Regions from separate parts of the Homo sapiens genome. Here all the other regions are linked to region 3. The links are contacts of gene promoters, found by promoter capture Hi-C in blood cells and fetal thymus (Javierre and others, 2016). All regions are on one chromosome and are shown on one strand. Each heading gives the region's core, a stretch centred on a gene start or on the middle of the fragment in contact. The rest is flanking DNA. Distances are from core to core; before and after follow the strand shown. Region 1 overlaps BNIP1 (BCL2 interacting protein 1). Region 2 overlaps CREBRF (CREB3 regulatory factor). Region 3 holds the start of RPL26L1 (ribosomal protein L26 like 1). Region 4 has its middle 44 kb from the start of BNIP1. Region 5 holds the start of BNIP1 (BCL2 interacting protein 1). Region 6 has its middle 53 kb from the start of DUSP1.

The links. The method cuts DNA at HindIII sites, captures the fragments that hold promoters and counts their contacts. A CHiCAGO score of 5 or more calls a contact.
Region 1: a contact is called between a fragment that was not itself captured here and the fragment with the promoter of RPL26L1 in region 3, in 1 of 17 cell types (non-activated CD4 T cells). The highest score is 5.3, in non-activated CD4 T cells.
Region 2: a contact is called between a fragment that was not itself captured here and the fragment with the promoter of RPL26L1 in region 3, in 3 of 17 cell types (total CD8 T cells, non-activated CD4 T cells and naive CD4 T cells). The highest score is 7.0, in total CD8 T cells.
Region 4: a fragment that was not itself captured here is called in contact with the fragment with the promoter of RPL26L1 in region 3 in 1 of 17 cell types (naive CD4 T cells); the score reaches 5.1 in naive CD4 T cells.
Region 5: a contact is called between the fragment with the promoter of BNIP1 here and the fragment with the promoter of RPL26L1 in region 3, in 8 of 17 cell types (naive CD4 T cells, non-activated CD4 T cells, total CD8 T cells and 5 more). The highest score is 11.0, in naive CD4 T cells.
Region 6: a contact is called between a fragment that was not itself captured here and the fragment with the promoter of RPL26L1 in region 3, in 17 of 17 cell types (neutrophils, megakaryocytes, fetal thymus and 14 more). The highest score is 35.0, in neutrophils.

Annotation. Positions count from the first base shown.
Region 1 is chr5:173,158,510-173,162,647 of GRCh38, reverse strand. It overlaps BNIP1 (BCL2 interacting protein 1), which reads right to left. Exons shown (of 6, transcript NM_001205.3): 4 at 3,803-3,904; 5 at 2,597-2,715. Among named protein-coding and RNA genes, the nearest start is that of BNIP1, 16 kb to the right of the region's middle. The HindIII fragment of the contact is 1,609 bases long and covers 965-2,573 here.
Region 2 is chr5:173,121,358-173,125,372 of GRCh38, reverse strand. CREBRF (CREB3 regulatory factor) reads right to left here. Exons shown (of 9, transcript NM_153607.3): 8 at 2,171-2,293. Among named protein-coding and RNA genes, the nearest start is that of BNIP1, 21 kb to the left of the region's middle. The HindIII fragment of the contact is 963 bases long and covers 1,238-2,200 here.
Region 3 is chr5:172,957,739-172,961,913 of GRCh38, reverse strand. It overlaps RPL26L1 (ribosomal protein L26 like 1), which reads right to left and starts at 2,490. Exons shown (of 4, transcript NM_016093.4): 1 at 2,446-2,490; 2 at 1,873-2,049. The coding sequence starts at 2,040. It overlaps RPL26L1-AS1 (RPL26L1 antisense RNA 1), which reads left to right and starts at 2,546. Exons shown (of 4, transcript NR_026682.1): 1 at 2,546-2,624; 2 at 3,657-3,775. The HindIII fragment of the contact is 11,810 bases long and covers 9-4,175 here.
Region 4 is chr5:173,186,186-173,190,140 of GRCh38, reverse strand. No RefSeq gene overlaps it. Among named protein-coding and RNA genes, the nearest start is that of BNIP1, 44 kb to the right of the region's middle. RefSeq lists a silencer at 2,379-2,498. The HindIII fragment of the contact is 1,672 bases long and covers 1,614-3,285 here.
Region 5 is chr5:173,143,061-173,146,698 of GRCh38, reverse strand. BNIP1 (BCL2 interacting protein 1) reads right to left here and starts at 2,168. Exons shown (of 6, transcript NM_001205.3): 1 at 2,070-2,168. The coding sequence starts at 2,153. RefSeq lists enhancers at 1,436-1,505, 1,447-1,975. The HindIII fragment of the contact is 7,780 bases long and covers 1-3,638 here.
Region 6 is chr5:172,716,558-172,720,719 of GRCh38, reverse strand. No RefSeq gene overlaps it. Among named protein-coding and RNA genes, the nearest start is that of DUSP1, 53 kb to the left of the region's middle. The HindIII fragment of the contact is 5,498 bases long and covers 90-4,162 here.

The DNA.
Region 1 (4,138 bases), core at 520-3,019, 200 kb before region 3:
TTCTTTTCTTTTTTTTTTTGAGATGCAGTCTCACTCTGTCACCCAGGCTGGAGTGCAGTGGCGTGATCTTGGCTCATCACAACCTCCACCTCCCAGGTTCAAATGATTCTCCTGCCTCAGCCTCCCCAGTAGCTGGGACTACAGGCATGCACCACCACGCCCAGCTAATTTTCTTTTTGTATTTTTAGTAGAGACAGGGTTTCAACATGTTGGTCAGGCTGGTCTCGAACTCCTGACCTCAAGTGATCTGCCCGCCTTGGCCTCCCAAAGTGCTGGGATTACCGGCATGAGCCACCGCGCCTGGCCAAAATCCACACGATGTTTCAAAGACTTAATCTAAGAAAAAGGAATGTAAAATATCTCAATAGTTTTTAATATTAGTTTTACATTGAAATTATAATATTTTACATAATGGGTTAAATAAACATCTTACTAAAATTAATTTCTTATGTTTCTTTTTACTTTTTAACATGTGCCTACTGGAAAATTTAAAGTTACATACGTGGCTGCTGTTGCGTTTCTATGGCAGTCCTGGGCTAGAGTTTTCTTATCCTTCTCTATGCTGTATGTGTTACCTTTTTAAAAATTAAAAGCTAATAAGTAAATAGGATAAATTATCAGAGGAAACACAGCAGCGTTTTGAAAATGACAGATAAAAGGAGAAAAACAAACACTCACAGAACAGGAATCCCTCTCCGCCTGCTTTCTCCACGCCTGCCTGCTGCGATTTCAAAACCCTGAGATCTTGCTAAGTAAAAATCTAATAGGCCTTTCTTTTTAAACTTTATTATTACGGAGAATTTTGAACCATCACAGAGCAGACAGCATAATATCATGAAATGCCATGTGTCCACCACCCATAACCAAGAACCACCAACCTCTGAAATCCTGCTCCCCCTCCCCCCAACTGCAACTACTCCTGCAATTGTGGAGCAAATTCCAGACACCATATTCCTAATAAGCTTTTTGTTTTAAAATTATGGTCCTAGTAGGCTTTTAAATCAAGCTGAATTTGTGAGGCATAAGGAAAGGGTTAAGAACTGTATTCTTCTCTTTTCTTCAATAGTTATCGCTTGTACAAAATGGGCCCCAAGAACACCGGGACCCTCTCAACACCCCAGAAGCCACCAGCATTTGTGTTTCCTTCCCACTGTTAGCGGGGGGTATGCTGTCGCCACACCAGAGCATAAAAGCCCTGGGCTCAGAGGCCAAGTTGTCGCCTTGCTCCCTCTCTCTCCAAGGCCTCTCCCACAGCACACGCTGAGAGGAAGCCCCTGGCTGGTTCCGAGCCCAGATGTTCAGGTAAGCTGCAAACTCAAGGAGTGACCTTGGGGTCACCTGCTTGCTTTCCTTTTGCTTCTGCCTATTTGGTGCACTGAAAAAACAGTGGTCCAAAATTATAATTTCTAGGGGTGATCATGGTATTGTAGTTATGGGGTTGCTTCTGCTTTTTCCCCAAAGAGTCCCTTATCTTTTAGAGAGATGTACTGAGATATTTATGGATGATGTCTGGGATTTGCTTCAAAATAATCCAGATGGGGGATGGGCTGAGGGTAGAACTGAAACGAGACTGGCTGGGGTAATGGACTCAGGGCTCAGGGGATTCAGGATACCATGCTTTCTCCTTTTGTCCACGTGTGCAATTTTCCAAAAGCGTTTCAAGGAGTAAACGCCCTTTTTCTGTTGTCTTATACTGAAGGACCCTGGAGAGGGCTGATACTCTTCTCCATCACAGAGGAGACACTCTGGGAAAACTATTGGAGGAAACCAGATGGTCTCAAGCAGTCTCTCCTGTAGCCTCTGATTCACATCTTTTAAAAGGAACTCATAGGAAAAATAACGTTGGGGAGTATAATTGTAAACTGAGGTCCTAGCAGTCCTACCAGCAGCTGATTCGCCAAACATCTCTTGGAGCAACCATTCCCAAACTTGCCTGGCCATATGGGTCCCCAGAGCCCTCACTGAAAATCAGACTCCAGGCCCCTCACCCAGCCCTGCCGACACCCTCTCTAGGAGAGGGGCTGGGACCTCTGCCTTTCACATGAACACATGGGAATGCTCCCCCTGAGGAAACATCGATGGGGGTGTGGGGTCTTCTAGTAAACAGAAATACGGGCCGGGCGTGGCATCTCACGCCTATAATCCCAGCACTTTGGGAGGCTGAGGCAGGCGGATCACCTGAGGTTGGGAGTTCAAGACCAGCCTGACCAACATGGAGAAACCCCGTCTCTACTAAAAATACAAAATTAGCCGGGTGTGGTGGTGCAGGCCGGTAATCCCAGCTACTTGGGAGGCTAAGGCAGGAGAATCGCTTGAAACCAGGAGGCAGAGGTTGCGGTGAGCTGAGATCGCACCATTGCACTCCAACCTGGGCAACAAGAGCGAAACTCCATCTCAAAAAAAAAAAAGAGAAATAGGAGCAGCACATCCCACACTGGATAAGACCATGGTGTCAAGTCATCTCATGAGGGAGAAGCCACCCAAGTCAGTGAACATCGTGTGGGCTGTGGTGGAGGAGCCCAGAGTGGAGGTGCCAGGGCAAGGGCCCTAGAGCAGCGTCTCTGGGAGAAGCTTCCTACTCCAGGCCCAGCTTTACCTAGAGACTGCATGGCCTCCTCGCTCTGCTGGACCTGCTGGGCCATCATCCTGCTGATCCCCATGAGGCTCTCAGTGATGGTACTGGATGTCTGGGCCAGGCTCTCTTTGGTGGTTTTCCTAAAAGTTCAGAGGAAGAGAAAGGGGAGGAATGTCAACAAAAGCCTCCCTGCAAGAAGGCCCCACATCCAAATGAGATCTCATGTTTTACCTATCCAATTAGTATACATATTTTAAATGATCACATTCAATGCTGGAAAGGGTGTGCTGAGACCCACGCCCCTGTGGACTGCTAGTAGGAACATAAACCAGTGCTGCCTTCTGTAAAGCAATTTGCCAATTGAAGAGCCTTGGTAATGTTCATTCCTTTGACTCAATCATCTCATCCCTGGAAATCCCTCCAAAGGAAACATCCAAAATGTGGATAAAGCCTTATGTTCTAAGACATGCCCTGGTGTATTACTTACACTACTTAAACACTAGAAATGCAAACACACACAGGGAATTGTATTAACATACAATCTACATACTATGTACTGTTAGAATTAGGCTTAAAAAGCTTTTTTTTTTTTTTTAATGAACAACTTTTGTGCTGAAACAGCAGAATATGAAATTTTATGTATGGTACAATTTTGACTTTGTAAGAAATGTAGAAATAAAAATGAGGGAGAGAATATACCAAAATGTTCATGAGTAATAAGATTTGATATTTTCGGCCGGGCATGGTGGCTCACGCCTATAATCCTAGCACTTTGGGAGGCTGGGGTGGGTGGATCACCAGAAGTCAGGAGTTCAAGACCAGCCTGGCCAACGTGGTTAAACCCCGTCTCTACTAAAAATACAAAAAATTAGCTGGGTGCAGTGGCACGCAACTGTAATCCCAGATACTTTGGAGGCTGAGGCAGGAGAATCACTTGAACCCAGGAGGCGGAGGTTGCGGTGAGCCAAGAGGGCACCACTGCACTCCAGCCTGGGCTACAAGAGTGAGACTTCATCTCAGAAAAAAAAAAAAATTCAATATTTTAATTTTGTAATTCATACTTTATTTTACCAATTTACTACAAATAAGTATGCATTTTTTTCAAACTTAAAAAAATTACTTATGTAATTAAATTAAGCACCAAGCTGAAAACAAGAGGGGGTTTCCTACACCTTGCCAATTGTTATCTATTATTATCGGAGCCCAGAAAAATAAAAGAATAGGTACCTTTGCCTTAAGAGATCTCCTCCCTGAAGAAGTTCTGCTTTCTCTAGATTGTCGATTGCAATTTTGCAGGTGAGATTAGCTTTCCTCCATGAGGCCTGATTGCTGGAATTGGAAGGTTCACGTGTGAGTGTGTCCACTCCACCAAGCCATAAGTCAGTTCAATTCACAGCACTTCCCCCCAACAAAGGCACACGGGAGAAGGCCACCAGGCACGGCCTTCAGAGCCCATCCCACCTCCTGCCACTTCCGCCTCCTGGTTCCCCAGCAACTGTTCTTGCTCAGGTCCTGATACCCCTTGACCGGACCCTGGAGGTCGCCACGGGGAGGCTCTGTTGC
Region 2 (4,015 bases), core at 470-2,969, 160 kb before region 3:
AAATCAGAAATAGAATAACTAAGAAATAAGGTGACAGAATTCAGAAAATAATTAGAAATACAGGGGAAAATTCCTGAAAGTAAAAGGAACCTAAGATCAGCAAGTAATGACAGCAAATAATGCTTTAAGAGAAACAGAAGGTAAAAAGGAGAAATAATGTTAAAAATGAAGAGATAAAAATGATTCAAGAAAAAGTGACACAAGGCAGGAAGATCATTTGAAGTCAGGAGTTCGAGACCAGCCTGGCCAACATGGTGAAACCCCACCTCTACTAAAAAATACAAAAATTAGCCAGGTGTGGTGGTGGGTGCCTGTAATCCCAGCTACTCAGGAGGCTGAGGCAGGAGAATCACCTGAACCTGGGAGGTGGAGGCTGCAGTGAGCTAAGATTGTGCCACTGCACTACTGCCTGGGTGACAGAGCAAAACACTGTCTCAAAAAAAAAAAAAAAAAGAAGAAGAAGAAAGAAGAAGAAGGAAGAAAGAAGAAGAAAAGAGAAAAGAAAGACAGACGAATACTAAAGATGGGCCAAAAAGAGCCAATCTATAGATAATAAGAGTCCCTACAGAAGAAAAGCAAAGCAAGGGAACAGATCAAACACTAAAAACATTTGAAAGTACATATTGAAAGAACACAGTATAAACATAAAAATGTCAACTAAAAATGACCAACTCTAAGATATAACTTAGCAAAATCACTGGTATTTAAAGAAAAAATCCTTTTGGCACCTAAGCAAAAACAGCAAAGTACTTATAAGGAAAAAATAATTAGTCAATATTGGCTTTTCTTTTTTCTTTTTTTTTTTTTTTTTTTGAGACAGAGTTTTGCTCTGTCACCCAGGCTAGAGTGCAGTGGTCTAATCTTGGCTCACTGTAACCTCCACCCCTCCTGCATTCAAGCGATTCTCCTGCCTCAGCCTCCCAAGTACCTGGGATTACAGGCACCTGCCACCACGCCCAGCTAATTTTTGTATGTTTAGTAGAGACAGGGTTTTACCATGTTGGCCAGGCTGGTCTCGAACTCCTGACCTCAAGTGATCTGCCCGCCTTGGCCTCCCAAAGTGTTGGGATTACAGGCATGAGCCACCAAGCCCAGCCAGTATTAGCTTTTCTATAGCAACACTTTATGCCAAAAGAAAATGGAGACTCATATTCAAGATACTCAAGGAAAGAAAATACGAGTTGAGGATTTTATACCTGGTAAAACTGACTTTCAAGTGTAAAGGAGTACATAAGCTTACCAAACATATAGATGTTTATATTAAAAAATAAAAAGGTAAAAATAACTTTTTCTTGTAATGTTAAATTTCCCCCTGTAGCTAATAAAGGAAGAATAAAAATGCTTTTAAAAATAAAAGGAAAGAAAAGAAAGAAATGCTATGAAAGAATACATAAAAAATTAAAATAGCATCAACCCATTTGAAGAAAAAGTCAAGCACAGAATTAATCCATATGGAAGCAGGAGGTAAGTGATTGCTGAGGAAAATACTGGCGATTAGGGTCTACTCTTCACCTGATTGTTTTCAATATAAATATACTTTTGTTCAAGAAAAACATTTGACCTTTTATTGTGTATATTTAATTTTGGGGGTTTTCGTGGGTCATATAACGCTGGATGCCTTGGATGCTACTGTCTGTCAGTGACTTTCTCCTACAGCAGCTGAGCTGATTCTCATGTCTATGTCTATACTAGCTAGCTCTCTCTTCCCTGTCAGCTCTCAGTTGGCCTGACGTCTAGATCCCTGCCCTCTGATCCTCCCCACATTGTGCAATCTGTTCAGGGATGGGAAACCAGAGAGCCAAGTTTGTGGGAATCCTGTGAAATGCATTACTGAGTAAAACAAGTAAGAATCTCTACACTAAAGTGCAAACTGCAGGCTTGACAGCTCTGGGACCTTTTGTCCTCCATGAAAGGTTAAAGTTGCTAGAAGTTTGTTTTTCTTAAATGTTAAAATAGTTTCATGATTAAGTCTAAATTACAAGTTGTGGTCACCTGCAACACATGTTTATGAACACTAAATCTCAAAAGATAAAACTACTCATAAAGGAGAGTAATTACAATGAGAGCACTTGAGTTTTTCCTTAAACTAAAAGAACTTTTAATATCCCCTTAAATCATACATCTTACACATATTATTAATTGTTATGAATTTATCTCGCATTCTTCTTACCGAGAGTATCTTTAATGAGGATTTCAAGCTTCTGCCCCATGTTGGGTCCTCTCTCATCTCTTGGATTCTGTACCCGGTTTACAATCTCTTGCTTGATGGAGTTGATTACAAACAATAAATTATCTGTAAGACAGAACAAAACACTTGGAATATGTCACTACCATGAAAGACTTTCCTTTTAATTATGTAATAACAGATAATTAAGAAATGGACTGGATTAAGAAAATGTGGCACATATACACCATGGAATACTATGCAGCCATAAAAAATGATGAGTTCATGTCCTTTGTAGGGACATGGATGAAATTGGAAATCATCATTCTCAGTAAACTATCGCAAGGACAAAAAACCAAACACCGCATGTTCTCACTCATAGATGGGAATTGAACAATGAGAACACATGGACACAGGAAGGGGAACATCACACTCTGGGGACTGTTGTGGGGTGGGGGGAGGGGGGAGGGATAGCATTAGGAGATATACCTAATGCTAAATGACGAGTTAATGGGTGCAGCACACCAGCATGGCACATGTATACATATGTAACTAACTGGCACATTGTGCACATGTACCCTAAAACTTAAAGTATAATAATAATAATAATAATAATAATAATAATAATAATAATAATAAAAGAAATAATAGATGACACCAACAAATAAAAAAAATTCTATGCTCAAAAAAAAAAAGAAATGGAGAATGTGTAAGAAAGCATTAAGCAGTAATGATTATAAGCAGCTCCTATACAAAGAAACTGATTTCAAATGATGTGGCACTTGTTTTTTAAAAATATCTCAAGATTAGCCAGGTGCAGTGGCTCACGCCTATAATCCCAACACTTTGGGAGACCAAGGCAGGTGGACTGCATGAGGTCAGGAGTTCGAGACCAGCCTGGCCAAACGGTGAAACCCTGTGTCTAATAAAACCACGAAAATTAGCCAGGTGTGGTGGCATGTGCCTATAGTCACAGCTATTCCAGAGGCTGAGGCAGGAGAATTACCTGAACCCAGGAGGTGGAGGTTGCAGTGAACCAAGATCTTGCCACTGCACTCCAGCCTGGGCTAACAGAGCAAGACTCCCTCTCAAAAAACAACAACAACAACAGCAGCAAACAACAACAACAACAACAAAACCCTCAAGATTACTGGGTATGCACTTTTGATAACACACTGTAGCCAGGTGTGGTGGTGTGCACCTGCAGTCCCAGCTACTTGGGAGGCTGAGGCAGGGGAATGGCTTTAGCCCAGGAGTTGCAGGCAGTTGCACTAGGATGGTGACTGTGAATAGCCGCTGTGCTCCAGCCTAGGTACCACAGTGAGACCCCATCTCCAACTAAAAAAAATGGCAAGGAAAAAAGACAACACACTGTAGACATGCATCGATGTCCACTAACCTGTAAGCAACTTGCCCTACTTGTCTTCATTGCTTTAAGACCTGATAGTGCCTGCTATATCGAATCACAGGACCTTAGTAAATGTTTATTAAATAAATCAAACCAAGTCCCTCAAAAACAAAAGCTTTAAAAACAGATTTCCCCACCTTGAAAAGCTTTAAAACAAAACAGAACAAAAAGCAAGTTAAGGCCAGGCGTGGTGGCTCACACCTGTAATCCCAGCACTTTGGGAGGCCAAGGCGGGCGGATCACGGGGTCAGGAGATAGAGACCAACCTGGCTAACACGGTGAAACCCTGTCTCTACTAAAAATACAAAAAATTAGTTGGGCGTGGTGGCAGGTGCCTGTAGTCCCAGCTACTCAGGAGGCTGAGGCAGGAGAATAGCATGAACTCAGGAGGCGGAGCTTGCAGTGAGCCGAGACTGCGCCACTGCACTCCAGCCTGGACAACA
Region 3 (4,175 bases), core at 1,241-3,740:
AAGAAGCTTGAAATGTCAATGGGCTACCTAAATAGAGATGTTCAGTAGGTAGTCAGATCTATAGGTCTGTGTTATAGGTAGTCAGATATACAGGTTGTCTAAAGTGGTCTGGACTGGGATATAAAAGAGGGAGTTGTTAGCACACAGCAGACATTTAAAGCTCTAAGAACGGATTATTACCTATTCTTTACCTACGTAGAGAACACAGAGCAGAAAGAGATGCTAGATGTGTCCACTGGATTCAGTCACGAAGGGATTATTAGTGATCTACGTCAAAGTAGGTTCTATAATGTAGTGGGGACAGGGAATAGACTGAAGAGAATCCAAGAGTGAATGGGAGATGAGGAAGTGTAGACAGCTCTCTTGAGGAGGTTGGTTATGAATAGAGAACAAAGTGTAGTAGCTGGAAGGAAATGTGGGCTAGGGAAGTGAATCCAAATTTTCCAGCTCTCTTTGAAAATCCAAGAATCTAACAATGGGCCTGCATTTCCCCCAGGCATCAATGGGCTAAAGGTAGATGATTATATCTTATATGTGAGGCTTGAGCTTTCCAGTTTGCCATTTTCTATCCCTACCTATCCCCTATAAGTATTTGCAATTCCCCCATTCTAGAACATGTCTGATGGGAAGGATCCAGGAGAGAGGGGGTTGAAACTGCTGATCATACCTCTGAACTACTCTTTCCACTCTTCCTGTCACACTTCCGGCTTAACTCCACATTTTTTCCTCCTTAACATATCCCCAAACCTTCAAAGAGTCCCAGTGTCTCAGATGATACACCAAGCCTCATCACCTTATGTCATTTCATTCTCTAAGACAATAGCTCTTAACTGAGTGAGGGAAGAGTTGATTTTGCCCCCCAGGGAGCATTTGGCAATATCTGGAAATATTTTTGCTTGTCACAACTGTGAAGGGAGGGAGTGCCACTGGCATCTAGTGGGGAGAGGCCAGGGACGCTGCTAAACATTCTACAATGCACAGGACAGCCCCCACCCCCCACCCCCCACAACAATTATCCAGTCCAACATATCAATAGAGCTGAGGCTAGGAAACCCTGCTCTAAAACGTGATCTCCATGAGAACAAGGGCCTCGTCAATCTTGTCCTAGAACAATCTCTGGTAAGTGCTCCATAAATATTCCTTTGAGGAATGAATCTAGCCCCTGCTTATTTCACTCATATCCAACTCCCTTCCCTCCTCTCATGCATTCTAAGCTCCAATCACAGAGAACAGAGGGCTTGTACGTTCTCACATGGGCCAGTCTTTTAGAAATTATGAAAGAGTGACTCGCTGCATCTTTACCAGTTCTCCTGCCAAATCCAATGCTATCACATGGCCAGCTCCCACAAATCTCTGTCCATCAATCCCACTACACCCAAATACACTAAAACACTACTCTCACTGCAGCACCTTCCCCTACAGTCTGGTTCAACAAGCCACCCTGGGCAACAACACTTGGCAAACTAGCAGCCAGAAGGTTAAATCAAAAGTATTTTTGGTGGGGCACGGTGGCTCACACTTGTAATCCCAGTGCTTTGGGAGGCTGAGGTGGGAGGATCACTTGAGGCCAGGAGTTCAGAGACCAGCCTGGGCAACATAGCAAGACCCTATCTCTACAAAACAAACAAAAAAGCAGGTTTTTGCTTGGTTGACATACTGTTTTATTAAATTTTACTATTACTATTAAATAATTAAATGCTCTAAAGCAACGCAGGCACTCTCTGGTGGCTCTGAACCCTATCTCTGGCCTAACACATCTGAAGGGTCACACTACTTTCCAGAGTCCTGAGGCATGTGAGTCTGTGACTGCTCCACGCATGACGTTCTTAGGCAACGGTGTCCGAGCGCCACTAGCGCCGGAGGGAGACGTACCTGGACCTCGTCGTCCTTGCGGATGGGCATGGAGCGGACATTGTACTTCTGCCGCAGCTCCTTGGAGAGCGGGGATGACATGATCTTCCTGCGCACGTGTGAGGGGGCATTGAAGTGACGTTTGCGGTTTTTACTGCGGTCCGAGGTAACGAAGGGATTGAACTTCATGGTGACCCTCTACAAAGGGCGGAGAGAGACGGAATGAAGGGGCGCTCAGTGGGTTACAGGGGCCTGTTCTCGACCCAAGACACTCCTCATCCCCCAACAAAGGCTCTACAGGGGAGGTAGCCTCTGAAAAGGCAACTGAGGGAGGACAGAGAGATGCGACTAGTCTGACTATCACATAAAGTGAGGCGTGTGTGGAGGTCGCATGCCCGTCTAAAGGGGTCGTGGGGGAGAGGGTAGCACTGGGACCTTGAGGCTGAGGAAGGAATGCTAGGGTTAGGCAGGAATGGGTGGTCGGGAGGTCACTCAAAGAGAGCTGTGGGGTGACATGTGTTCCCGCGACACATAGGGCAGGGTCTCACGGGGCGGTAGAGTTCACTGTCCGAGAAAACTCCAGCCTCCACTCACCCGGCTACTAGCTGCCTCAGACCCTGAGTGCGCAGGGCCGGAAGTGAGTTTCCGTGCCGCGCAAGCGCAGAAAGACATCGAAGCCCCATTTCCGTAGGAGCGAAGTCGAATGGCGCCCCCAGCGGCTTGGGGTGGGATCTCAGTGCCTCATTCCTGGCGGCCCCGGGAGGGCGATGCCAGTGAGTACAAGGGCCTGCTTGTGTAGGGCCTGCGGTAGAGGCTTACTGGTGTTCTTTTTTTTTTTTTTGAGACGGAGTCTCGCTCTGTCGCCCAGACTGGAGTGCAGTGGCGCGAGCTCGGCTCACTGCAAGCTCCGCCTCCCGGGTTCACGCCATTCTCCTGCCTCAGCCTCCCGAGTAGCTGGGACTACAGGCGCCCCCCACCACGCCCGGCTAATTTTTTGTATTTTTAGTAGAGACGGGGTTTCACCCTGTTAGCCAGGATGGTCTCGATTTCCTGACCTCGTGATCCGCCCGCCTCGGCCTTCCAAAGTGCTGGGATTACAGGCGTGAGCCGCCGCGCCCTCCTACCTCTACTTTTTTCTATCTCTGGGACTAAACGGCGGCCGGCGGCGTGCCTGCGGGTTTGTGGCCGCCGCCCCGCCCCTCTCTCCTAGACCCCGCCCCTCTCATCCAGTCCCCGCCCACTCCGGCCGCTCCGCGCCCACCTGTGGCCCTCTTGGCCCTTCTGCCCGTGCCTGGCCCCGCCGGGTCGCTCCCGAGCTCCGCGTTTCGTTCGCCGACCCCTGGAAGACTGCCTGGAGGCCCGGGCGCCACCCAACCACTGGCTAGGCCGACACTTTGCGCGGACCCTGGGTGTAAAAGGTCCCCGGGTCTCTGGTCCCGACGGAGCTGTGAGGGAGATCAACCACGCCCCCTCCGTGGGCACCGTGGCGGCAGGGAAGGAAAAGGGCTCTGGGTCTCGACTCTCTTCGGGTTAAGAACCGACGGGGTTTATTCTATGCAAGGTGTTATTAACTCCAACTCTCCCTTTCGTTCATTCATTCCATATATGTTGAACGACAACTTAGTGCCAAATGCCGGCATGCTGAAACTCAGAGAGGGAAGATGTCTTGCAAGTACAGCAGCCACACCCAGGCAGGTCCCGTGCTCTCTCTTAGTTTATCAGTGTTCCCTGACATGTAGTGGTGACATTGTTAAACACCTGCGTTTACTAATACTAGATTTTTTTTTTTTTTTTTTTTGAGATAGAGTTTCGCTCTTGTTCCCTGGGCTGCAGTGCAGTGGCACCATCTCGGCTCACCGCAACCTCCGCCTCCCAAGTTCAAGCGATTCTCCTGCCTCAGCCTCCCCAGTATCTGGGATTACAGGTATGCGCCACCACGCCCGGCTAATTTTGTATTTTTAGTAGAGACGGGGTTTCTCCATGTTGGTCAGGCTGGTCTTGAACTCCCGACCTCAGGTGATTCTCCCGCCTCGGCCTCCCAAAGTACTGGGATTACAGGCGTGAGCCACTGCGCCTGGCCTACTAATACTAGGTTTTATTCCGGGCCCTTCACAGTTAATGTTGGAGGCCTCTGGAGGATGGCCACACCTGGGCTATTTGCAGAAGCCTGGACAGCACAGCAGGCAGAGTTAAAGCAGTTAAGGCAGTATCAGCTGAAGGGCCACCCAGCTGTGCGTGTGCCCAGGCTCCAAGAATAAGGAGGTTGGGGGGCAGTCCTAAGAAAGGAAGTCATTACCTATCGGCAACCCAGGAGCAGACGCTGG
Region 4 (3,955 bases), core at 1,200-3,699, 230 kb before region 3:
CCTCAGCATCACACAATATACCCATGTAACAAACCTGCACATGATGTACCTCCTGAATTTAGAGTTTTTGAAAAACGAAATATGATTCCAAGTGAAAGAAGCCAATCACGCAATATTGCATACTGTATAATTCCACTTATATGAAATGTCCAGAATAAGCAAAGCTACAGAGACGCAAAGTAGATTGTGATTGCCGAGGGATGGGGTGGTTGAGGGGGGAATTGAGGGATTAAAGGGTTTCATCTGGAGGCGATGAAAATGTTCTAAAATTGACTGTGGTGATCGTTATCCAACTCTGTGAAAATACTAAAAGCCACAGCATTGTACATGATAAATGGGTAAATCATATGTGAGTATATACATCAATAAAGCTGTTTCTCAAACAAGAATGTTATAGAGATGGTCTCTGATGGTATGTAACCACTTGAGATTGGCTTTTCTCACTCAGCATCATTCCGTCATAGTCCCTCTCAGCAGTTGCCCAGAGCAGTAGGTGGACCCTCCGCATTGCTCAGTAGTATTCCAGTGTACAGACATCCCAGAGTGTGTTTAACCATTCACCTGCTGGATATTTGAGTTGTGTCCCTTTTTTTTTGGCTATTAAAGCTGCTGTGAACATTTGTGTACAGATGTTTGTATGGACATACATTTTCATTTTGCCAAGATGAATACCGAAGTGAATGTTTCACTTTAAGTGTCTCTGTTATCCAGCACACCTCTGCTAAGAAATGACTATCTGCATCTGGGAGCAGTGGTTCATGCCTGTAATCCTAGCACCTTGGGAAGCTGAGGTGGGAAGATCGCTTGAGGCCAGGAGTTTGAGACCAGCCTGGGTAACATAGTTAGATCCTATCTCTACAAAAAATAAAAATGAAAAAATTAGCCAGTCATGGAAGTGTATGCCTGTGGTCCCAGCTACTCAGGAGGCTGAGGTAGGAGGATCGGTCGAGCCCAGGAGGTAAAGGCTGCATTGAGCTATAAGTGCACCACTGCACTCCAGCCTGGGATGGCAGAGAGATTCTGTCTCTATAAAATAAAAATAAAAGAAGTTACTCTCTGCAAACGCTTTAAATTTTGTGTTTTAAGGAACCATGTAGTTAGTCAATTTTCTAAATGGAAATCAGGCCAGGTATGGTGGCTCACGTCTGTAATCCCAGCACTTTGGGAAGCCGAGGCAGGTGGATCACCTGAGGTCAGGAGTTCGAGAACAGCCTGGCCAACATGGCAAAACCCCATCTCTACTACAAATTCAAAAATTAGCTGGACATGGTGACACATGTCTGTAGTCCCAGCTACTCAGGAGGCCAAGGTTGGAGGATCGCTTGAGCCCAGGAAAGTGAAGGCTGCAGGGACCGTGATCATGCCACTGCATTCCAGCGTGAGCAACAGAGCAAGACTCTGTCTCTAAAAAAAAGAAAAAAAATTACCACATTTTTAGATTATATAATTCTGATTCAAAGGTAAAATACAAAGAGGGGAAAATATATTTAACATAAAATTTGAATAAAATATTTTCCAAAATCTTAAGGAAGACTTACTTCCATAAAAATAATTTTTATGTCAGGCTTCAGGCTCAGTGGGCACCCGTGAGTCCTGATTTAATGAGACAAGCTTCAAATTCTAGGTTTTTTTTAAATGATTCTTCATCATTGATTGATTGATTGATTGATTGATTGATTGATTGATTTTTAAGAGACATGGTCTCATTCTGTTGCCCAGGCTGGAGTGCAATGGTGCAACCATGGCTCCCTGCAGCTTTGACCTCTGGCCCCAAACAATCCTCCCGCTTTGGCCTCCCAAAGTGCTGGAATTACAGGCATCAGCCACTGTGACCAGTTTCCTCTTCTTTCTGTTAAATGACATATCATCCCTTGAATGCAAGAGTTTCAGATTCTTAGTAATCATCATTGCCAAGAAATTTTGCTTTTACAAGTAAGTGACTTTTAAAAAGGTTTAAAAATTGTGTTTTTCTACCTTAAAATTTTTACAATGGTCAAAACTACACATAAAGGATCACCCTTTCTTTCCTTGGCAATTATGATATAGGAACTTCTTAGGATTTCTAATCCAGTCCAACTTTCTTTTTTTTCCTTTTTGAGACAGAGTCTCACTCTGTCGCCCAGGCTGGAGTGCGGTGGTGCAATCTCGGCTCACTGCAACCCCTGCCTCCCAGATTCAAGAGATTCTTGTGCCTCAGCCTCCCGAGTAGCTGGAGTTATAGGCATGCACCATCACTCCCGGGTAATTTTTTTTTTTTTTTTTGTATTTTTAGTAGAGACAGGATTTCATTATGTTGACCAGGCTGGTCTTGAACTCCTGACCTCAAGTCATCTGCCTGCCTTGGTCTCCCAAAGTGCTGGAATTATAGGCGTGAGCCAGTCCGATTTTTTCATACTGAGTATGTCACAATAATGCTGACACTCTAACTTGTAGAGCACACATGATTGACTGCAATGGTTGCCTGCAGGTGGCACAGTTACCCCTGTACCCCTACAGTCACCCAAACAGAAGCATCTGTGTGAAGACAGAGCAGGCAGCCCGGAGCTGGGCCTGCCCAGGCACCTGCCCTCATCCTTCCCTCCAACCCCTAGGGGGCCTCCCTTCAGTCTGTACCCGCTACTCCTGGGCACCTGCAATGCAAGCTCACCAGCCCCTGTGGCTCTTGCCCAAACCAGACAGCATAATGCCTGGCGGCTGGCTACTGTCCTCCACATCCAGGCAGCAAGCAGCTCTTTCTTGATGGCACTCAGGACCCCGCCTAGATCAGGGCATACCACCAAGGCTCACGGTGCTCCTGAGGCCGCTGGGGCACCACAGGGTGCTTCTCAGGTCCTGTCACTCAACTGGGCCTCCCCAAAGTGGGCTCACAGCCCAGGGGCTCCAGTTGCCCCAGGCTCTGCTAGGCTGCCCAGAGGACTCAAGGTGTGGATATCTCAGGCACACCTGAGTGTTGAGCTCAGCACACGTGTATGCTGGGCACGGCATGAGTGTAAGGAAGCGCTGGCATACAGAATAAAATCCCCTGGCTAGGAAGCAAGCTACTGCTGACTCCACCGAAGCCCCTGCACGCCCCTCCCAGTACCATCTCCCCTCGCCCCTGCAGAGGCAGACACCATCCTGACTTTGGTGTCTATTCTTTTCATTCGTTTCTTTCTATTTTACCACATGCGTATATATCCATTAAAATATGTAATTGTTTTTCATGTTTAAAACTTTATGCAAGGAATATTATTCAGTGTTAAAAAGGAAGGAAATTCTGACCTATGCTATAACATGAGTGAAGCTTGAGGACATCAGGCTAGGTGAAATAAGCCAGTCACAAAAAGATAAATACAGTATGATTCCACTTATCGGAGCCGAGTAGTCAAAATCATAGAGACAGGAAGTGAAATGCTGGTTGTCAGGGCCTGGGGGAAGGGGAGAGTGGGGAGTTGTATAATGGGGACAGAGCTTCACTTTCACAAGATAAACAGTTCTGAGGCCGGGTGCAGTGGCTCACGCCTGTAATCACAGCACTTTGGGAGGCCGAGGCAGGCAGATCACCTGAGGTCAGGAGTTTGAGACCAGCCTGGCCAACATGGCAAAACCCTGTCTCTACTACAAATATAAAAATAAAAAATAAAACTAACTGGGCATGGTGGTAGGCACCTGTAGTCCCAGCTACTTGGGAGGCTGAGGCAGGAGAATCGCTTAGAACCTGCGAGGCAGAGGTTGCAGTGAGCCAAGATCGTGCCACCACACGCCAGCCTGGGCAACAAGAGCGAAACTCTGTCTCAAAAGAAAAAAAGAGTTCTGGAGCTGGATGGTGCTGATGGTTGCGTAACATCATGAGTGTATTTAATACCACTGAAATAAATACACTTACAAATGGTTAAGATAGTCAATTGTATGTTATATGTATTTTACCACAACCAAAAAATGTAACTTTACACAAATAGTAGTCAACTATGAGAAT
Region 5 (3,638 bases), core at 919-3,418, 190 kb before region 3:
TTACATTTTTCTCATTCCTTTTTAGATTAATGTTGAATTAATATAAAAGCCTAGAAAGAAACACAACTGCTTTGACCTAATTTTTAGTGCCTAAATTTTAACAAAACATTACCTGGCCAGTAGGAAACAGCTTAAAACAGCTTGTATGCCCAACAAGAATGGACATGCAAAAGTGATACTATCACTTTAGAACCTTAGATCCTTCCAACTTGGAAGATCAGGATGTTTAAATATCTGGCATCATATGATGAGATTAACTTCTCCAGTGTGATTTTACAAACCATTAGTGATAAGTTAGAGTGTTTATATAGACATGTTTAAGGGCAGATTTAGAATCTGTTGCTGGACATTCAGAATTACTGGTGCCAGCTTTCACGGCAGGCTCTGGAGACAGACCAGGTGGATTCGAATCCTGGCTGTAGCAACTTATGAGCTGTGTAAAGTTACCTGGAAAGTTATTTAAATTCTCTGTGTCTGAGTTTCCTTATCACAACACTACTTACCTCATAGAACATCATAGATTATGTATGTATGTAAAGCACTTAGCAGAGCTGCTGGAAAACGGTAAGAACGCAATACATCCAGCTATAATCAGTCTTTCTCATCAGCAATGACAAGAACCCAAATGTTAGAAAGAGTACAGAAGAATGCCTAAGCAATTTAGATTATGTGAAAATGTAATTTCATTTGTATGAAACCTGTTTATTTTTCTATAATTGGCCCAGAAGTTTTGTAATGTATACATCAGAGAAGTGAAGTTCAAGAAGTTTTAAATATCTGCATCAAATTTCACTTTTTCTCTGGCTTATTCATTTAATCACACTTCTTTGCACCGTATTTGTTTATTCTGCATCTAATTTGGTTTATTCTGCATCTGGTTTATCTGGGGAGCCCTATTTTCCTGCACTTTTTGCCACACCTTGTTACAAACTCTGAGTCTACATCTAATGTTTAGTGACTTTGTTGAAAATGATTATTTTTAAAAACCAAGGTTTAGGCCGGGCGCGGTGGCTCACGCCTGTAATCCCAGCAATTTGGGAGGCCGAGGCGGGCGGATCACGAGGTCAGGAGATCGAGACCATCCTGGCTAACACGGTGAAACCCCGTCTCTACTAAGCAAAACACAAAAATTAGCCGGGCGTGGTGGCGGGTGCCTGTAGTCCCAGCTACTCAGGAGGCTGAGGCAGGAGAATGGCGGGAACCCGGGAGGCGGAGCTTGCCGCGAGTCGAGATCGCGCCACTGCACTCCAGCCTGGGCGACAGAGCGAGACTCCGTCTCAAAAAAACAAAAACAAACAAGCAAAAACAAGGTTTAAAACTCGGTTTCTTTTTGCTGAACTCATGGAACCGTGTCTACACTCCCAATTCTTGCCTAAGTCCACTCGTTTATTTTACCTCTACCCTTAAATGGCTTAAGGCGAAACACTTCATTTCCTATCTGTTCAAACGGGGTAACACTCTAAGGTGTTATTCCTAGGTTGACTTTCACAGTCCAGGTCCCAGTTTTGCCACTGACCCAGGTATGCCTTCTAACCTAGGCCTTGGCGCCGTACTCGATTTCCTCAAGCATAAAATCACAACTACGGTCCAGGTTACATTCGTTTCACCCGGTGCCTCCCGTGCCAGGTGGCCTTGGATGCCAGGAGAGCTGGCCAGCAGGGGGCGGGGCTAGCTGCCTCCCGGACGCTACCAGAGGATGCTGAAGCAGCGTCAGAGGGCGGGGCCAAGCAGGGTGACAGGTAGGTTGTGAGGTAGTCAGGGGCGGGGCGACGACCAGGGCTGCAGGTGGAAGGGGCAAAGCCGAGCCCCGAAGCAGTAGCTGAGTCAGGGGCGGAGAACAGTGGGGTGCTCTGGGGATGGGAGATCCGGCGGCACCCGGAAAAAGGATCAAGGCCAGCAGTCACCGGGACACAACCAAATGGGGACCGGGGGGGTAGCCGACCATGGGGCGGAGCCTGTGGTCTGGGAAACCAAGTGGGGAAAGTTCGGGAGTGACACTGCCAAGCTCACAGACCAGCAGAGCTTGGGTTAGGGCTGCTGGAGCCCGGCAGGGGTCCCGGGATCAGTACCTGAATAAGCGCCTTCACCTCCAGGTCAAATTTGACAATCTCTTGGTTACAGATCCGGACGTGGACGTCTTGGGGAGCCGCCATGTTGGGGACGCCGGCTACGGGCAGCGGCAGGACCCAAGTTCAAACGCGTTTTCGCACCACCTTCTTTCCCTCCCCACCCAGTCTCGGGGCAGCGCCCCCTAGAGACCGGCGAAAATGGCAAGCGAGGGTCACTGCGCAGAGTTGGGACTTTCCCTGACACGTGTAGGGAAATCAGCCTCTCCTCTTGGTATGGCCCTAATAACATGGAGAGGAAGGGAAGAGGGAATATCAAGAACGCTTCACAGTGGTCTCTTTCCATCTTCCTTCTGTCAGGCATTCTAATAACTATATATTTTTTACATAGAAAAAAAAAGACTGGAAGAAAAGTATCAATTGAGATGTCTCTGGAAAGTACCAGTAATAATTTTTTGTTTCTTCAAACTTTCTTATATTTTTAATATTTTCTACAGTGAGTATAAATTGTGGAGTAAAAGAGGAAATGATAAACGTCATATATTTTTTAAAGTATGGAGTTCAAGGCAGGTCGGTAGAGTACCTCCTATCACTCCAACACATGATCTAAGGGATCTTTGTAAAACACGAAATTGATCAAGTCACCTACCTGTATGCAGCCCTTCTATGGCTTCTCGTGTTTCCCTTTTGTATACAACTGGATTTATTAAATCTACCTTGCTAAGGTAGTTTTGATGGAAATGTCAGAGCAAACCCTCAACAAATGGTGGCTCTTTTATTTTTGTTAGTAAATAATCCAAGTTTCTTAGCTGGTCCTCAAGGCCATCAGCCACCCCGGCCATCAGCCACCGCACCCTGCGCCCTTCCTGGATTGCTCAAGCTCCTTCTGGATGTGTAGCCTTAGAATGTGGTGTTCCCTCTCCCTAGAAAGCGTTTCCCCCACTCGACCCCACTCCATCTGCATTTGTTCGGGTCACTTCAGCAAGCATAGATTGTGAGGACCTAAAGGCTTAGGACTTGAATGTTCATCTCTCTCTCTTTTTTTTTTTTTTTTTTTGTGGCGGAGTCTCGCTCTGTTGCCCAGGCTGGAGTGCAATGGCACAATCTTGGCTCACTGCAAACTCTACCTCCCAGGTTCAAGCAATTCTCCTGCCTCAGCCTCCTGAGTAGCTGGGATTACAGGTGCGTGCCACCATGCCCAGCTAATTTTTGTATTTTTCATAGACACGGGGTTCACCATATTGGTCAGGTTGGTCTCGAACTGACCTCGTGATCCACCCGCCTCGGCCTCCCAAAGTGCTGGGATTACAGGCGTGAGCCACTGTGCCCGACCATGTTCATCTCTCTTAATCCTCACAACCACCCTTGAAATTGTACTACACTATTATCACAGATCAGGAGTAGGGCTTAGAGTAAATTAAAACAAAAAACAATCAACCCTGTTGCAAGATTACCTATCTTGAAAGTGGCAAAGCCTAGGCCGGGCACGGTGGCTCATGCCTGTAATCCCAGCACTTTGGGAGGCCGAGGCGGGTGGATCACGAGGTCAAGAGATCGAGATCATCCTGGCTA
Region 6 (4,162 bases), core at 1,589-4,088, 240 kb after region 3:
TATCTAAGTCAGGTGGAGGCTTGGAGTTGGGTTTCCTTTCCTGCAGCTAGAAACGTTCTGAAACTGCAGTACTTCTGGATTCCAAAGCTTGAGTCCTTTCCCTAGCATAAGGTGCTTCTCTGCATATCCATATTCCAAAAGTCGAACACTTTGGCACCATTTTCCTCTATGTTTTGAGTTCCAGACACCAGGTTTACAAAGGATTGCTGCATGACAACTTTGCTTGAGGTGAGGACCCTTCCCAGCATGTTTCCTTGCTGCCCCAAGTTTAAAAATAATTACATGCATGAAAGAACACTTCACAGACTGTAAGGTGCTCTCTACCTTCCCTCCCTCCCTTCCACAAATAATAACTAGCTGCTGTGCCAGGCATTACAGATACGGAGGTGAATAAGTCCCAAAGCTCATTCTCTTGGAATTCACAGTCCAGCTGGGGAGGCAGACTAGTAACCAGCTAATTATCGCCTATGGTAATTGTCTTGATGGTAGAGTTCAGCATAGCATGTAATTGGGGCAGAAAGGAGTGGGACTACCTTGCCCCGCCTAAACGTAAGTGGGTGGATCAGAGACAGTTGAGGCCAGAGCTACACCTTGAAGACACCGTAGGAACTACTGGAGTGAAGAAGGTTGGTAAGGTGTCCCTAACAGAGGGCTCAGCCTGTGTAAATGTGTGTGGGCCTTAGAAAGCACATATGGTCTGTTTGTTCAGGAAAACGTAAGCATGTCAGGATGGTGGAGGGCAGGGTGCAGAGAGTGGAAGGTGGAGGCACAAGGTTGGAGAAGTCTGCGGGGCAGGGGATGAAGGAACCAGAAGGCCAAGCCAGTGTCTGGGACAGGATCCCGCACCACTGGGGAGCCACCTAAGGATTCCAAAAAACAGCGTGACACAGTCAGATTGCATTTGGGGAAGGGCACTCAGGGCACTCGAGACATAGCTTGGAGCGGCAGGTCTGAGTCTACACCTGAGGACCCTTGAGTCCGGCCTGACAGTCCCGTACCCCAAGCCTCTGGCCCCTCCAGAACCATTTGACCCCACCAACTCCCACCCAAGCCAACTGTGAGCCATTTTCTGACTGGGTGGTCTTGGACAAGTCACTTCCCCTCTGGAAGCATCTGTTTCTCCATCTGCACCATGAGTAGAGTCCCACTGGCTTCAAGGACCATGGTTGGAAGCTCAGTCATGGCACCACAAGTGAGAGTCCTTCATGCCTATACAGAGCCGTGTTCATGCATGAGGTGGGTGTTTGCGCCCAGTTTCTCAAACTCCCATGGCTCCTGGCTGAGTCAGAGCCTTGACGTGCTTTGCTGCCCTGGTCCCAGCTTCAGGGACTACACCCTCTCCCTGTTCTTTACAAGAGATGCTCCAGGTCACGTCTTGGGGTTTACTCATCATTGCTCTGTGCACATTAGATGTTGCCAGAATTTGCTGATGGCCCATCCCCAGCACTGGCACCTAACCCCTTTTCCCCACCATAGCCCCACACTGGAGGACTTATTTACCTGGGTCACTGCTGCCATCTTTTATTCTGACCTCCTTCCTGTGGGTCAAAAAGCAAACACAGGCTTAGGTCAAGTAGTCTTTCAAACATCCATCCATCCATCCATCCATCCATCCATCCATCCATCCATCCACCCTGTCCAACCATCCATCCATGCATCCATCCTGTCCATCCACCCACCCATGCATCCATGCATCTATTCATCTATCCATCCATCCATCCTATCCAATCCATCCATCCTATCCATCCATCCATCCAATCCATCCATCCATCCATCCTGTCCATCCATCCATCCCTCGTGTCCATCCATCCATTCATCCATCCATGCATCCATCCATCTATTCATCCATTCATCCATCCTATCCATCCATCCAATCCATCCATACATCCATCCATCCATCCATACATACATACATCCATGCATCCATCCATCTGTTCATCCATCCATCCAATCCATCCATCCATCCATCCATCCATCTACCCATCCATCCATCCATCCATACATCCATGCATCCATCCATCTATTCATACATCCATCCTGTCCATCCATCCATCCATCCCATCCATCCATCCATCCATCCATCCACTAATCTTCCTTCCACCCATTCGTCATTCATCCATTTGTCCACCATCATCATCCATCCATTCGACTTCTATCCATCCACCCATCCATTCATCTATCTGTCTTTCCATCCATCCATCCATCCACCTATCTTCACTGAGCCCCTTCTCCATGCACACACTGTGCTCAGCTGTGAGGAGAGGGGGATGAAGATGGGTCTGTGCCTGCTCTCATGAGTGGTGTGCTTGTTCAGAATGGTGTAAGCACATCTGTGTGGTGAAGGGTAGGGTGAAAGGTTAGGGGGGTTGAGGCAGGAGGCTGGGGAGACCCACTGGGGTCAGGGTATAGTCTGGTGGGGGAGATGAATGTACACAAGTAGGTCTGATAACTTTAGATGGTCAGAGTGTCATGAAAGGAGGAAACAGGATCCAGCCATCCAGGGAGAGATGGGGATTCGTGGGAGTGCTGGAGGTGGAATAGAGCAGGATCCCCGAGGGATGTGGAGTGGATTTGCTGACAGGTGGGCTCAGGGGCAAACTGAAGCCAGATTATTTGTGGGGCCCAAGGAAAATGGCGTTCCAGAGGGCTCTGAGGCTTCTGGGCACAGGGGGCCACCTGCCCAAATGGGGAAGACCTGGGTTCAGGTCTCAGGGTTGCCAATCCCCGACTGTGACCTTGGGCAGGTCACCTCCCCTCTTGGATGCCAGTTGCATGACCTCTAGAATCCTCCTGATGGTGACAATGTACCTAAAATAGCATAAAGCAGCCCAGCCCACCGAGGACGTGCCAAATGCATGCCCACTCTCACTGAGCATTCTCTCTTCCTTCTTCCACCAGTGGCCCTGGGAACTCCCAGGGCCCCTGAAAACACTGTTGGCTGCGGTCCCTTCTGCAGTTTCCCCACCTATAAAATGGGACAATGCCAGTGCCTGGCACCTAGTAAGTGCTCAGTAAGCATTAGTGGTGGCTGTGGTTGCTGCAGCAGTTGACCGGCCCTTTAGTCTGTACCTCGCAGACCCGCTTCTGATTCTGGCCACATCTGCCCCCACCCGACTGCTTCCTCTTGTCTCTTCTCCCTGATATGCTGGGCTGCGTGTCCGAGGGTCCTTGCTCCGGCGGCCCCCTCCACACCGGCCCTTCCCTCTGACCACCTCCCGCCTTCTCCTCACCCCAGCTCCTCCGTCCCTCTATCCCACCACCCTGTTGTATTTTCTCCCGATGCTTGCCAGGATCTGAAAGCATCTTTTTTTTTCTTCTTTCTCTTGTTTATTTCTGTGTCCTCACGTAGTTTGGAGGTTCCAGAGGGCACAGCCTTTCAAAGGTCTTCTTCCCTGGGCATCTCCAGTTCATCGTACAGAGCCCAGCACACAGTAGGTGCACAGTGCCTATTTGTAAGAAGGAAGGAAGGAAGAAACGAAGGGAGGGAGGAGGCAGGAGAGACAAAGGGAGGGAGAGAAAGGCAGTGGAGGCCTGTTGGGGAGGGCGGGGTGGCTGGTGGGGAGGAGCCCCAGGTCCGCAGCCCCAGTGGTGGACCTGAGAACATTGTTGGGGTGTTCAGGAAGCATCTGCCCAGGGAATTAACAGAGCTGGAAACCATCCGGGCGTCTAAGTTTGGCTTCTTCCCGATGATGTGAAGACCATGCTTAGCGCTCTCTTGGGAGCCGACAAGGGGGTCTCTAGCGCCACCTTCCGGGCATCCGGGAAATGTCCGTACAGTCCCACCAAGGCCCACCTGCCGCCTCGACATTCATAAATAAACGCCAACAATGACAGCGACAGCAACAACAGCTCCGCTTTATTAAATGGTTACTCTGCGTCAGACAGCGTACCAGGTACTTGAAAGATATGATGTCCTAACCTCCAGACCCCTTGAAATGCGGCTGGTTATTACCCTCATTTATTTACGCAGACAGATGAGGAAACTGAGACTCAGAGAAAAAGAACCGCTCAGCCCAGGTCGCATAACCAGTGAGTGGCAGGTCTGGATTCTAACTCAGGTCTCTCTGGCCCCAAAGTGCAGAGCCCCAAAGGGCTGAGCCGTGCTCTGGAGAAAGGCAGAGAGGGAAAGGGAGGGTGGGCAGGGCTGGGGCTGAGGGCACAG